Regions from separate parts of the Homo sapiens genome. Here all the other regions are linked to region 1. The links are contacts of gene promoters, found by promoter capture Hi-C in blood cells and fetal thymus (Javierre and others, 2016). All regions are on one chromosome and are shown on one strand. Each heading gives the region's core, a stretch centred on a gene start or on the middle of the fragment in contact. The rest is flanking DNA. Distances are from core to core; before and after follow the strand shown.

Evidence for each region. The method cuts DNA at HindIII sites, captures the fragments that hold promoters and counts their contacts. A CHiCAGO score of 5 or more calls a contact.
Region 2: a contact is called between a fragment that was not itself captured here and the fragment with the promoter of HEATR6 in region 1, in 1 of 17 cell types (M1 macrophages). The highest score is 5.3, in M1 macrophages.
Region 3: a fragment that was not itself captured here is called in contact with the fragment with the promoter of HEATR6 in region 1 in 1 of 17 cell types (total B cells); the score reaches 5.3 in total B cells.
Region 4: the fragment with the promoter of USP32 here is called in contact with the fragment with the promoter of HEATR6 in region 1 in 2 of 17 cell types (total B cells and M1 macrophages); the score reaches 6.2 in total B cells.

Annotation. Positions count from the first base shown.
Region 1 is chr17:60,077,469-60,080,706 of GRCh38, reverse strand. It overlaps HEATR6 (HEAT repeat containing 6), which reads left to right and starts at 1,786. Exons shown (of 20, transcript NM_022070.5): 1 at 1,786-2,011. The coding sequence starts at 1,793. It overlaps HEATR6-DT (HEATR6 divergent transcript), which reads right to left and starts at 1,398. Exons shown (of 2, transcript NR_135648.1): 1 at 1,235-1,398. RefSeq lists a silencer at 2,000-2,129. The HindIII fragment of the contact is 13,067 bases long and covers 1-3,238 here.
Region 2 is chr17:59,740,349-59,743,586 of GRCh38, reverse strand. The region is part of intron 5 of VMP1 (vacuole membrane protein 1); the gene reads right to left. Among named protein-coding and RNA genes, the nearest start is that of VMP1, 34 kb to the right of the region's middle. The HindIII fragment of the contact is 1,382 bases long and covers 858-2,239 here.
Region 3 is chr17:60,410,254-60,413,491 of GRCh38, reverse strand. All of the region lies in intron 2 of LOC105371850 (a long non-coding RNA gene), which reads left to right. It also overlaps a transcript of USP32 not described here. Among named protein-coding and RNA genes, the nearest start is that of CHCT1, 11 kb to the left of the region's middle. The HindIII fragment of the contact is 3,591 bases long and covers 1-3,238 here.
Region 4 is chr17:60,390,655-60,393,892 of GRCh38, reverse strand. It overlaps USP32 (ubiquitin specific peptidase 32), which reads left to right and starts at 1,760. Exons shown (of 34, transcript NM_032582.4): 1 at 1,760-2,011. The coding sequence starts at 1,954. RefSeq lists silencers at 1,290-1,609, 1,720-1,939, 1,970-2,029 and an enhancer at 1,204-2,045. The HindIII fragment of the contact is 3,969 bases long and covers 370-3,238 here.

The sequences.
Region 1 (3,238 bases), core at 537-3,036:
AACACCAGTGAATTAATGCCTTGTGGTCAACTTTTGACAATAGACTTCAAAAGCTGACAGATAAATGCTTTTCCTCTCTGTTCCTCAGAAGAAGGGTTTTGAGAGCTTCACAAGGCTTCTCAGAAACTCCTGAGGACTGAACAATCAGTCACCCCTTGCAATGGCCAACTCAATAGCACATATTGGTATTAATTCTCCTTCCTTCCCTGTTCATTTCTGGATAAATCCCTCACCTATCAACCTCATCTGAGGCTCTGCTATCAGGGAACCCAGATTAAAATATCCAACGACTAGGTTTCAGCTCCTGATCTTCTCTGAACAAATGCTTGAATACATTTCTTTACACGAATACACACACACACATGCACATATATAACGCACATATGTACACAGACTAGGAATAAGAAATAATATACCAGCACAACGGAATCTAAATCCAAACAAAAAAATTAACATTTCTCCCCAAGCCCAAAGTCTTCAGAAAACTACCTCTGCTAAAGCATACCCCCAATTTTCACTGCTGAACAGAAATGTTTTGTTCTCAGGATAAAACATACATTCAGGTGACTTCAAGGTTTTCCCTAAGGGCCAAGGGTGAGGATTTGCTTTATATTTGCATAACTCAAAGGCCCTAGAGATGGTTTTCCCAATCTGCCCAACTGTGAAAGTCAAGCCTTCACTTCCTGGATGACTGAAAAGTGATCACAGATTTTTAAATGGCCATTTTATTCTCCAGCTTCTTGACTTCAAGGTTTCAGAAAATCTTGGGGTGTCTCATTTCAACCCGGTCACTCTTAGGCAGATTATATTTTACATGATTCAGTTAAACTCCAAAATTACTCTTCTAGTGGGGCGAGGTGCCTCATGATCCATGAGAGGATTCACACTGGGAAAAAGGGAGAAAAAGGAACCAAGAGTACAGCCAGCTGTCACTTAAGTAGGGAAAGCTGCCTTATATTCCACTGACCAGATTGCAATCACAGAGCCACAGCCAACTGCAAGGAATGCTAGGGAACGTAGCCTTTATTCCGGGTGGTTTTGTGCCTGGGGAAAGATTTTAGAAGAGTAGAAGGGTGCCTTAGAACTAGCGGTTTCTGCTACTGCCATCCACAGCATACCCTCTCCAACTCCAGCCCGAATCTGAAACTCTAGTACGGAACAGAGTACCTTCAGCCCTGTCCAGGAACAAACTCTGGGAGGACAAACTTTCTGGAAGCACAAATTGAGAACTCACTTTTCAGTCAGGGCTCAAGAAGGAGTGGCCGGCGAAAAATCTCCAAGCCAATTTCTTTCTTTTTTTTTTTTTCTGAGACGGAGTCTCGCTCTGTCGCCCAGGCTGGAGTGCAGTGGCGCGATCTTGGCTCATTGCAAGCCCTGCCTCCCGGGTTCACGCCATTCTCCTGCCTCAGCCTCCCGAGTAGCTGGGACAACAGGCGCCCGCCACCACTCCCGGCTAATTTTTTTTTTTTTTTTTTTTTTGTATTTTTAGTAGAGACGGGGTTTCACCGTGTTAGCTAGGATGGTCTCGATCTTCTGACCTCGTGATCCGCCCGCCTCGGCCTCCCAAAGTGCTGGGATTACAGGCGTCAGCCACCGAGCCCGGCCTCCAAGCCAATTTCTGACAAGCATCTGCAGGGTACCGGTCGGAGGAGTCCCGTAGTCATGGAAACCCCTCTGAGCCCCAGTCCGGTCTAAAAAAGGTACTTTCGGAACTAGAGCGCGCGGAACGGGAGGATGTCCCGGAAGTATTTCCCTGGGATCACCCCACCCACCCCCCCCGCCCGTAGAAAAGATGGCTGCTGTGCAAGTTGTCGGTTCGTGGCCTTCCGTGCAGCCGCGGGAGGCACCGCGGGAAGCAATCCCTGAGCGAGGCAATGGGTTTCGCCTCTTGTCTGCCAGGCTCTGCGCCCTGCGCCCGGATGACAGCAGCTCCGCCCGCACCGAGATCCACCTGCTCTTCGATCAGCTCATCTCCGAGAACTACAGCGAGGGCAGTGGCGTGGCCCCGGAGGTAGGCGGCGCGCCCTGCTGGCCCCGGCCCCGGCCCCACCCCTCCGGGAACCCAGCTGGTGGCCTCTGCCTGCCTTTCCCTGATCTTCCCACTCTCGCGCCTGATGATTTAGTTTCAGGATGGCGTGCCCCCTCCAACCTTGGCACATTCTTAGTTCTCCATTTGGAAGACCCTGCAGTGCTTGGCACGCTCGAGTCATTCAAAACCCAACTTGACGACTCCTGCTCTGATAATGCCTCGGGTTTCCTCTCTGATACCAACTTTCCATCCGCCCGCACCCTCCTTCACTCCCTCTCTGTGCACCCAGAACACTTGGTTGACAAAATGCATTACTACTGTTTATTGCGTACATGGTACACGGACCACGTGGGAATCTTAGAACTTGCGTAGTATTAGGGCTTGTTTGCTAATGAAAATACTGAAGCTCGTAAAAATACAGTATACAAAACTCTGCCACAAAGCCCCTATGTTTTCTGTTCCTACACACTAGCTCCTCCCCTCTGCCGTCTTTCTGAGTAATCTTACACACATCAGGCCTTAAATTAATGAATTCTCTGAACTGTTGACACCATGGCCTTCTGGCCCTACGTAGGAAAGAGGGAAGTGGTGCAAGTTGCCTGCTTGCACAGGCATCTCAAACTAGACAGTTCCTAAAGATGAAATTCATTAGCTCCAAACACGCATTCCCGTCCCCAGTCCATCCCACCTTCCAACACACATGCATCATCCACCAAGTCACACCAGACACAAACACTGGTTCTTCCCTCCTTCATCCCAGATCCTGACCAACTCAGGTATTTCAGAATGTGTCTCATATATATTTCTCAGTTCATCCCCTCCTGTCTATTCCCATAGCGAGTGCCTTAGACCTCAGGCAAGGCGACTTATGCCTGGACTGTTCGCTGATCCCCTCTGACTGATCTCCTGCCTCCTGTCTAGCTCCTCTCCAAGCCAGTCATTCCTCCAATGCCAGAATGATCTTTTCTTTAGGAGGAAAAAAAATTGTTCATAAACTTTAAAATCTGCTTTGGAAAAGTCTTCAATACGTATTGGTAAATGGTTGAAGCAAGTTGCAGGACAATTCATACAGAATGAGATCAGTATGAAGCTGGAGGAGGGATTTTAAAATATGTGTGTTTATATATGCAAAGTAAAAGGTCTGAAAGAATTGACTACAGAATAATAGTGTATGTCATTAGGAAGCAGAGTGAGATTAAGGCAGTAGTC
Region 2 (3,238 bases), core at 299-2,798, 340 kb after region 1:
TATATAGAGAGAGAGAGAGAGAGAGAGCAGTTTTTTAAAAATAATTGCCAAACAGGAACAAACAAGATATCCTTCAGTAAGTGAATGGATACACAAACGGGTGGTACATCCATACAGAGGAATATTATTAAATAGTGATGAAAAGAAATGAGGTATCACACCAGAAAAAGACAAGGAAAAACCTTAAATGTATATTGCAAAGTGAAAGAGGTCGGTCAGAAAAGGATCATACCCTATAATTCCAACTATAGTGTCTTCTGGAAAAGGCAAAACTATAGAAACAGTAAAAAGATCAGTGGTTGTGAAAGGTTTGGGGGCAGGTGGGGAAGTGGAAAAAACAGGTGAAGCACAGGGCATTTTTAAGACAGTGAAACTATTCTGTATGATACTATAGGTATATACATGACATTATGCATTTGTCAAAACCCATAGACCTGTATAACACAGAGTAGATCCCATAAACTATGGGTTTTAGTTAATAATGTATCAATATTGGTTCCTCAATTGTAACAAATAAATTACACTAATACAATATGTTAATAGTAGAGGAAACTGTGTGGTGGGGAAAGGTGTTATGGCAGTGGTCCCCAACCTTTTGGGCACCAGGAACCAGTTTCGTGGAAGACAAGTTTTCCACAGACCTGAGGTGGGGGATGGTTTTGGGATGAAACTGTTCCACCTCAGATTATCAGGCATTAGATTTTCATAAAGAGCATGCAAGCTAGATCCCTCGTATGTGCAGTTCACAATAAGGTTCGAGCTCCTATGAGAATCTGATGCTGCTGCTGATCTAACAGGAGGTAGAGCTCAGGCAGTAATTCGAGTGATGGGGAGCGGCTGCAAATACAGATGAAGCTTCACTTGCTTGCCAGCCCACTGCTCACCTACTGCTGTGTGGCCTGGTTCCTAACAGGCCAGGGACCAGTACTGGTCTGTGGCCTGGGGATTAGGGACCCCTGGTGTATTAGAATCCTCTGTCTTTTCTGCTCAATTTTTCTGTAAACCTAAAACTACACTGAACAATAAAGCCTATTATTATTATTATTATTATTATTATTATTATTGTTTTTGAGACAGGGTTTTGCTCTGTTTCCCAGGTTAAAGTGCAGTGGTGCAATCACAGTTCACTGTGACCTTGAGCTTCTGGGCTCAAGCAATCCTCCCTCCTTAGCCTCCCAAGGAGCTAGGACCACAGGCACATGCCACCACACCCAGCTAATTTATTTATCTTTTATTTATTTATGTGTTTTTCAGAAACGGGGTCTTGCTAGGTCTGCTCTTGAACCTGTGGTCTCAAGCGATCCTCCTGCCTTGGCCTCCCAAAGCACTGGGAGCACAGGAATGAGCCACTGTGCCCAGCTCTAATAATTTTTTGTTTTGTTTTGTTTTGTAGGCGTTCTCAGTCCTTTATAAATTTCCCTTCTCTTTCCATTCAACTACGGGCACCAGCAACCTACCTGGATAAAGTGAGGATCTCATTTAACTTGCAGCATAATTACAGTATACCTTTAAATTTCTCTTTTCACATACTTTCACATAATATGTAATAAATGTGAACAAGTGAACAAATAACTGTTTTCTATACAGTTAATGGCATCAAAATCTACCCAGTCACTCAGTAAAAAACCAGTAACTACACAGAAAAATGTTGCAAGATCTCATTTATAGAGATAGAGATGGGAGGAGATGTAGATCAAAGGATACAAAGTAGCAAATATACAGGCAGAACAAGTCAAAAGATCCAATGTACTCTACATACACTATGAGGACTATAGTTAATAACAATGTGTTGTATTCAGAGTTTTTGCTAAACTAGTAAATTATAGCTGTTCTTGCCATGAGGAGTAAAAACGTAAAAATGGGTAACTACATGAGATAAAGAATATGTTAATTTTTTCCACAATAGTAACCATTTTACTATATATATTTATATCTTATAACATCATGTTATATACCTTAAATACACATAAAATATATTAAAACAAAACAAAAGGAAATCCAAGAGTTATCTTTCATTCCTTCTTCCTCCATAATAACGTACCACACTCTTGATTGTACTTCTAAAATTTCTGTCATATTTGTCCTTTTTCATCCCAAATGCTATTTCCATTCCAAGCAATCTTTTAAAACATCAAAGATCTATACCATCTTTTGTCTTCATTTTGCTTGACTTCTCTCTACAAGTTCTCTTTATAAATACTCCTTGCTATCCATTCTTCCTATCACCTCCTGGGAAGCTTGTGTCTCTCATAAGGATAATCCTAACTGCTCCTCTTCTCTTCCACCTTCAATCTATCTCCCACACTATAGCCAGGATTATATATTCATAAATTGCAGATCTGGCTGTTTTATATATACTTAATTTTAGGGCATTTAAAATAATTTTTTTTTTGAGACAAGGTCTCACTTTGTCACCCAGGTTGGAGTGCATGGTGCAATCATAGCTCACTGCAGCCCCTATCTCCTGGGCTCAAGCCATCCTCTCGCTTCAGCCTCCTGAATAGCTGAGACTAACAGTCCTGTGCCACCACACCCGACTAATTTTTGTATTTTTTATAGAGATGTAGAGATGTGTTGCCCAGGCTGGACTTGAACTCCTAGGCTCAAGTGATCAGCCCGCCTTGGCTTCTCAAAATGCTGGAATTACAGGCATGAGCCATAATTTCAATCTCTTTTGACATTCAGCAGAGTCTGCTATCTGGGTTGCTTTTCAGAGGCTTCCAAATTAATTAAATGCTACAAATGAGTTTCTTAATCTGGTTTTCCCAAGGAATATGAGGACAGGTCTAGACACGAACAGAAAAGTATCCTGTAACCTGTAATTCCTTCTTTTCCTCTCTCCCTCAACCTCTACTAGTGAATGTAGTGTTATTCTACTACGAATGCAGTTATTAGAAAAACAGTGATATGAGTTAATTCCCTAGGATTTATGTCCCTGTTTGAGTTAAATCACCAAGCAAACATGAACATAATTCTAAAGTTCCAAGTTTTAAACTCCCATAAACTTGGAGAAATGATATATTATAGATTAATTCCCAAAGCATTCGTCAGATCATTAATCCAGTACCCTTCTGAGCCAAGCAGACAATCATTCCTTAATACTTATCCTAGCTGCTTCAGAGATGAATTCATTATAGCACAGAGATTGCAAGTGCTTGTAGTGATGAATTTTATTCAGCAATGGGTACTGCTTGACAATCTTTCACCTGTTTTTCCCCAATGAAGATCAAACTGCTTT
Region 3 (3,238 bases), core at 499-2,998, 330 kb before region 1:
TCCCTTCCTTTTTAAGTCAAAATAATATATAGCCTCCCTGTACTGGTTTATGACTTAGCCTAGCACATCTGTCTCCCTGCCTTTAAAAACCCTTACCTGTAAGCCATCTGGGAGGTCAGGTCTTAAGTATGAGCTGCCAGCTCTCCTTGTTTGGCACCCTGCAACAAAGTCCTCACTTTCTTTCACTGCTATCCTGACATCAGCATTCTTTTTGCTGGGCCAGGTGAGTGGACCCCAGTTCTATAACACAGGGATAAGGTCTTTCCCTCCCCCACTGGCAGGATACAGAACACATCTCTGCACATAAGTCATGAGCATCTCTCCAACTCCTGCTTCTCCCAAAATAGTTTTCAAAAATGTTTTGTACTATTTTCTTCACTCTTATCTGATATTTACTGTAGTTTTCCATTTAATAGACCCCTGGTTGGATTTCACTTTTTTTTTCCTGTAGCAATGTTTTAATTTGGGCTTCATGTGCTCTAAAAATATCTTGTCAGGGTATCAAAATAACACTGCAGAATGGCAACCTCGGAACTTTAGAGCGTGTTTCTAAATAGTCTAATGATATGCAAGCGTCTGTGATCTTGTCAAAATTGCTGGGGCCTAATGATTTCCTCTTGGCTCTTTCTGGAAGGTTTTCTTTGCTAAGACAGAATTCAGGGAGATAAGCAGGAGAGAACTGAATGAATGTCAATGAATGTTGGAGCTGGGAATGATTTTGGAGAGGAAAAAAATGCATCTCAAATTTTGCAGCAATTTCTCCCCAAAGGACTCACTCTCACCACCTTTCTTCCAGGGCACCGTATTTGTACCCCACTCCCTCCCTTCAGGCCCAGATTTGGTGAGACTGGGGACTAATATTAGAGTTTTTCAGACAGAAAAATCACCTTGCCTTAGATCTTCAGAATCAGAATGTCCCAAGAGGGTCTGGAAATCACTATTTTTTTTTTTTTTTTTGAAACAGGGTATCACTCTGTCACCCAAGCTGGAGTGCAGTGGTGCAATCATAGCTCACTGAAGCCTTGACCTCTCAGACTCAGGTGATCTTCCTGCCTCAGCCACCTGCTCCCCCGCCCCACCGCCCCCATTCCCCACTAGTAGCTGGGACTACAGGTTCACATCACATACCCGGCCAATTTTTGTATTTTTTGTAGAGATGGGATTTCACCATGTTGCCCAGGCTGGTCTCAAACTCCTGGGCTCAAGCAATCTTCTCTGTCTTGGCCTCCCAAAGTGCTGGGATTATAGGCATGAGCCACCACACCTGGCTTGGGGATCAGTATTTTCATAAATATCCTAGGCAATTATCATCATCGGGCAAATTTGGAAAATACCGGTGTGGTGAGCTTGAATTCCAAGTTGGGCTTGTTGGGTCCAGTCAGGTAAATTACAGATTCTCTGATATTGTGCTAGAGCTGGCTCTAACAGGCTCATCAGAGCTGATTATTAAGTTTTTGCAATTTTGCCAGCTGTTTGCTAAACAGAAGCATTATTAAATATTAAATTATATTGAATGCAGGGACTCAAACAGATACTTATATACCAATGTTCACAGCAGCATTGTTCACAATAGCCAAAAAGTGGAAACAACCCAAGTGTCCATCAATAGATGAATGGATAAAAAAATGTGGTATATGCATGCAATAGAATATTATTCAACCACAGAAAGAATGAAATCCTCATATATACTACAACATAAATGAATCTTAAAAACTCTACTAAGTGAAATAAGCGAGACACAAATGAACAAATATATAATTCCACTTATATGAAATATCTAAAATAGGCAAATTCATAGAGACAGAAAGTAGAATAGGAGCTGTACATGGTGGTGCATGCCTGTAATCTCAGCTACTCTGGAGGCTGAGGTGGGAGGATCACTTGAGCCCATTAGTTTGAGACCAGCCAGGGGAACATAGTGAGACCTCTCTCTCTAAAACAAATAAATAAATACAAATTAAAATTAAATTTAAAAAATAGTGACAGACTCTCACTTTGTCACCGAGGCTAGAGTGTAATGGTACAATCACGGCTCAAACTGAAGCCTTGACTCCTGGGCTCAAGTGATCCTCCCACCTCAGCCTCCTGAGTAGCTGGGACTGCAGGCATGCACCACCATGGCTGGCTAATTATTTATTTATTTATTTATTTATTTATTTATTTATTTTTGAGACAGTTTTGCTTTTATTGCCCAGGCTGGAGTGCAATCGGGCAATCTCGGCTCACCGCAACCTCCACCTCCTGGGTTCAAGCGATTCTCCTGCCTCAGCCCCCAAATAGCTGGGATTACAGGCATGCACCATGCTCTGCTAATTTTGTATTTTTAGCAGAGACAGGGTTTCTCCATGTTGGTCAGGCTGGTCTTGAACTCCCAACCTCAGGTGATCCGCCTGCCTCGGCCTCCCAAAGTGCTGAGATTACAGGTGTGAGCCACCGTGCCTGGCCTGGCTGGCTAACTTTAAAAACTTTTTTTTTTTTGTAGAGGTGAAGGTCTCATTATGTTGTCCAGGCTGGTCTCCTAAGTAGCTGGGACTACAGGCACGTGCCACCATGCCTGGCTAATTTTTGTATTTTTAGTAGAAACGGGGCTTCACCATGTTGGCTAGGATGGTCTCAATCTCTTGACCTTGTGATCCCCCCACCTCAGCCTCCCAAAGTGCTGAGATTATAGGCGTGAGCCACCGCACCCAGCCGACAGTTTCTATTTCTAACCTATGTTATGTGCTTTTGACTCTTGTGATTTATATAGCATTATATAGTATAGACTGCATTTGTTTTTGTTTGCTCTTGCTTCTCTAGTTCTTTCTTTCTTTATTTATTTTTTGAGACAGTGTTTCACTCTGTGGCCCAGGCTGGCGTGCAGTGGTGCAATCTCGGCTCACTGCAAGCTCCGCCTCCCAGGTTCACACCATTCTCCTGCCTCAGCCTCCTGAGTAGCTGGGACTACAGGTGCCTGCCACCACGCCCAGCTAATTTTTTGTATTTTTAGTAGAGACAGGGTTTCACCGTGTTAGCCAAGATGGTCTCAATCTCCTGACCTTGTGATCTGCCCGCCTCAGCCTCCCAAAGTGCTGGGATTACAGGCATGAGCCACCGCGCCCACCGAGGCTAGGGTTTTTAAAGGATAGTTTGGAGGGCAGGAGACTAGGGAATGGGGTATGCTGATTGGTTGGGTCAGGGATGAAATCATAGGGGGTCAAAGCTGTCTTCCTGCACTGAGTCAGTTTCTGGGTGGAGG
Region 4 (3,238 bases), core at 511-3,010, 310 kb before region 1:
GACCAACATGGAGAAACCCTGTCTCTACTGAAAATACAAAATTAGCCAGGCATGGTGGCGCATGCCTGTAATCCCAACTACTCGGGAGGCTGAGGCAGGAGAGTCGCTTGAACCAGAGAGGCAGAGGTTGCGGTGAGTCGAGATCGCGCCATTGCACTCCAGCCTGGGCAACAGGGGTGAAACTCCGTCTCAAAAAAAAAAAAAAGAAAAACACAGAATATTACCTTCTTTCTCTAGCAGGGTATATTAGAATCTGTTGGTTTTAGGAACTAATAACCTTTCCCTGGCCCTAAATTACCTAACCGGCACCTTGGGTCCAATCTAATCCAAATGGTTACTTTTTCAATATTGCTTCCTTTTCCAGAAGCTTTATTCCGTGACTTTTAGGTTGAAGACGCAAACTAAATAAGAGTTGAAAATCAAGGAACTAAATAATAATTCCACTGTACATATACACCCCATTTGGTTTCTCCATTTATGGTTTCCTATAGGTTGTGTTCACCTTTTGGCTCTCGTGAATAATGCTGCTATAAACACGGGGGCACAAATACCTGTTCACATCCCTGCTTTTCATTCTTTGGGAAATGGAGAGGTGGAGTGGGAGAGTCAGTCACATGCTGCCACACCATGAACCTGGAAGGCACGATGCCAAGTGAAATAAGCCAGTCACAAAAGAGAAAGTCTGCAGAGTTCCACTCAGAGGAAATACTTAAGAGTAGTGAAATTGATAGTAGGACAGCGGTTGCCACGGACCAGTGGGAGGGGGATTGGGGAGTTACCGTTTAATAGGCACAGAGTTTCCCTTTTGCAAGATGAAAAACGGTGGGAAATGGGACGTGGCAATGGATGCAAAACAATATCAATGTTCTTAACGCCACTGAACTCACTTAGAAATTGTGAAAATGGTACATTTTGTTACGTATATTTTACCACAGATTAAAACGACTCCACGCTAAGCCTTGTAGCCCTCATGTTTCTCGGGGAGAAACTCTGGGAGAGAGGATAAGCCTTTTGCACAGCGCTTTCCAGAGAATGTGTACAAGAGGCATGGTCAGGAGGAGAAGGTGGGCCGGGCAGGCGAGATGACCCGAAAAGGCAGATCCACTTCGTTAACAAGGTCCACTTTCCTCAGGGATCTCCCGCTAGGTGTGAGCATTCTTTTGTCACAGGAAAGCCTTGAGATTCTCCTTTCCTTTCACAACGCCCTCCCAGTCAAAGACGTCCCTAAGGTTGGGAGCTCCCTGCCTACCCACTCCTTTCTCTTCTGAGCCATATGCCGCATCCCTCAGAACCCCATTCCCTAAGATTCTGCGGTCTTCCATGTTAGGTCCCGGCAACTGCCACACTAACCGTCAGCTGCTCGGACCCCACCCGCCGAACGCCAGAACATGTGGGCGCGGGGGCGGGGGGGGTCGTCCTCAAGCGCCCCGGAAGTCACCACCCCCCGTCGCCAGCGGAGGCGCCCGGGCGGGGCGCGCGGCTGCGATTGGCGGGAAGATGGGACGATGCGTTACGTGCGGAGATGCGTCCCCCTCCCCGGCGCTCCTGCGCGCGGTTAGCTTGGGGAGGGGCGGAGCGTGCGGCCCTGGGCGGCCGTTACCGGGAACAGTGTCTGGCCTCGGGTCCCGTGACCCTCGGCGGAGCTGGCGGGAGGGGGCGGAAGTGGCAAGAGGGCGTGAGGAGGGAAGGAGAGGGAGGAGAGAGAGGAGAGAGAAGGGCGGAGTAGGAGGCAGGGGAAGGGGGCGGGGCGGAAGAGTCACGTGATCCGGCATGGAGGCGGTGGCGGCGACCGGGAGGAGCCGCCGGGGCAGAAGCCGCACTTGTTAGTGTGGGGGGAGGTGGGGGCGGGGGACGCCGACACCGTCACCGTCACCCAGGGACGCCGAGGAGAAGGCGGGAGGGGGGTGGGGGCGAGATCAGGCTCCGACCCCCCGCCGAGGGGATGAGGGGAGCATGGGTGCCAAGGAGTCACGGATCGGATTCCTCAGCTACGAGGAGGCGCTGAGGAGAGGTGAGGGGGGAGGGGTCTGGGCGAGCTGCCTGGGAGGCCCGCGACGGGCAGCCTGGAGGGTGGGTAACCGGGAGGGAGAGGGGAGATTGAGGGCGTGGGGCGCCTGAGGCGGAAGGGAAAGGCGGCCGGCCTTGGGGAGTGTGGTGGAGGAGAGAGGTCGGGTGGGAAGCAGCGTTTGGGAATTAGGGCCGTTTGGAAAGGGGCTTGTCCTGAGAGAGGGGGATCGGCGCTGGCAGGGCAGTGCCCGTGCTCGCTGGTGGCGTTGTGATCCTGGATGTGTCCAGGGAAGTCCTCTCCCCGTTTTCTTGGGCGGCTCCAGCCCATCCAGCCCCCCTCATCCTTCATTGCCATTTTCTCCTATCATTCCTTCATAAAAACCTCAAATAACATCCTAACCTCGTTCCTAACAGCCTTAGCTGGAAGGGGACGAGGAGGCGGCTGCAAAGCGCTCCTCTCTGCTACTGGAAGCCCCTTCGTATCTGGGGAGTCCCTGCCTTTTCCCAGAGCCTATGCCTGTCTCTTGAGGGCTGTGGCCATCCGCTTCTGCCACCCTTCACCGTTTGAGCGGCTGACTTTGATAAGAACGATCTGAAATGAAGTTGTGTTTGAGGTGAGATGAGACTGGACAGCTGGCGTTGGCACCAGACCTTGTCTTAGGTTTCATCTCCTCCGACGTTGACCAAAGCCTTTGACTGCACTTGATGCCCAGTTCTCGCTCCATCCCTCTCCATGAAATGGCATTGGGAAGTCCAGCATTCAGATATTGTGTTAAATCTCCCTTTAGAGACTGGCCTGGCTGCCAGTCCCGGCCTGCTGCTTATTGGCTCTGAGGCACAGTATATTGTTGGCAGCCCCAACCCCCTACCACTCACTCTGATACCGCTGTCCATGATCACTAAAGCACACACTAACTGGAAGTGTCTTGTTGCACAGTTTATGGCCGGAATGTCTTAATTTTTCATGACTGGGATTTCAGTGTGTGTAGATCTGTGTATGCTTGTATTTCTTTTAGACATTTAATGGATATTCTTGGTAAGAAGTGAAAAAACATTAAGAAGATTAGGAGCTAGGCATTATTGTTAACAGGTTTCCAAGTCAAGAAATCAGCCATGCTCCAGGTGGTTTTAGTAGCTAAGGATATAAAATGGTAATTAGATTAAAAGACGGGTATTCAAAATGAGGCTTGAGAAGTGAACTCTTGTTCGTATATAGGAAGAAGAGGGGTAA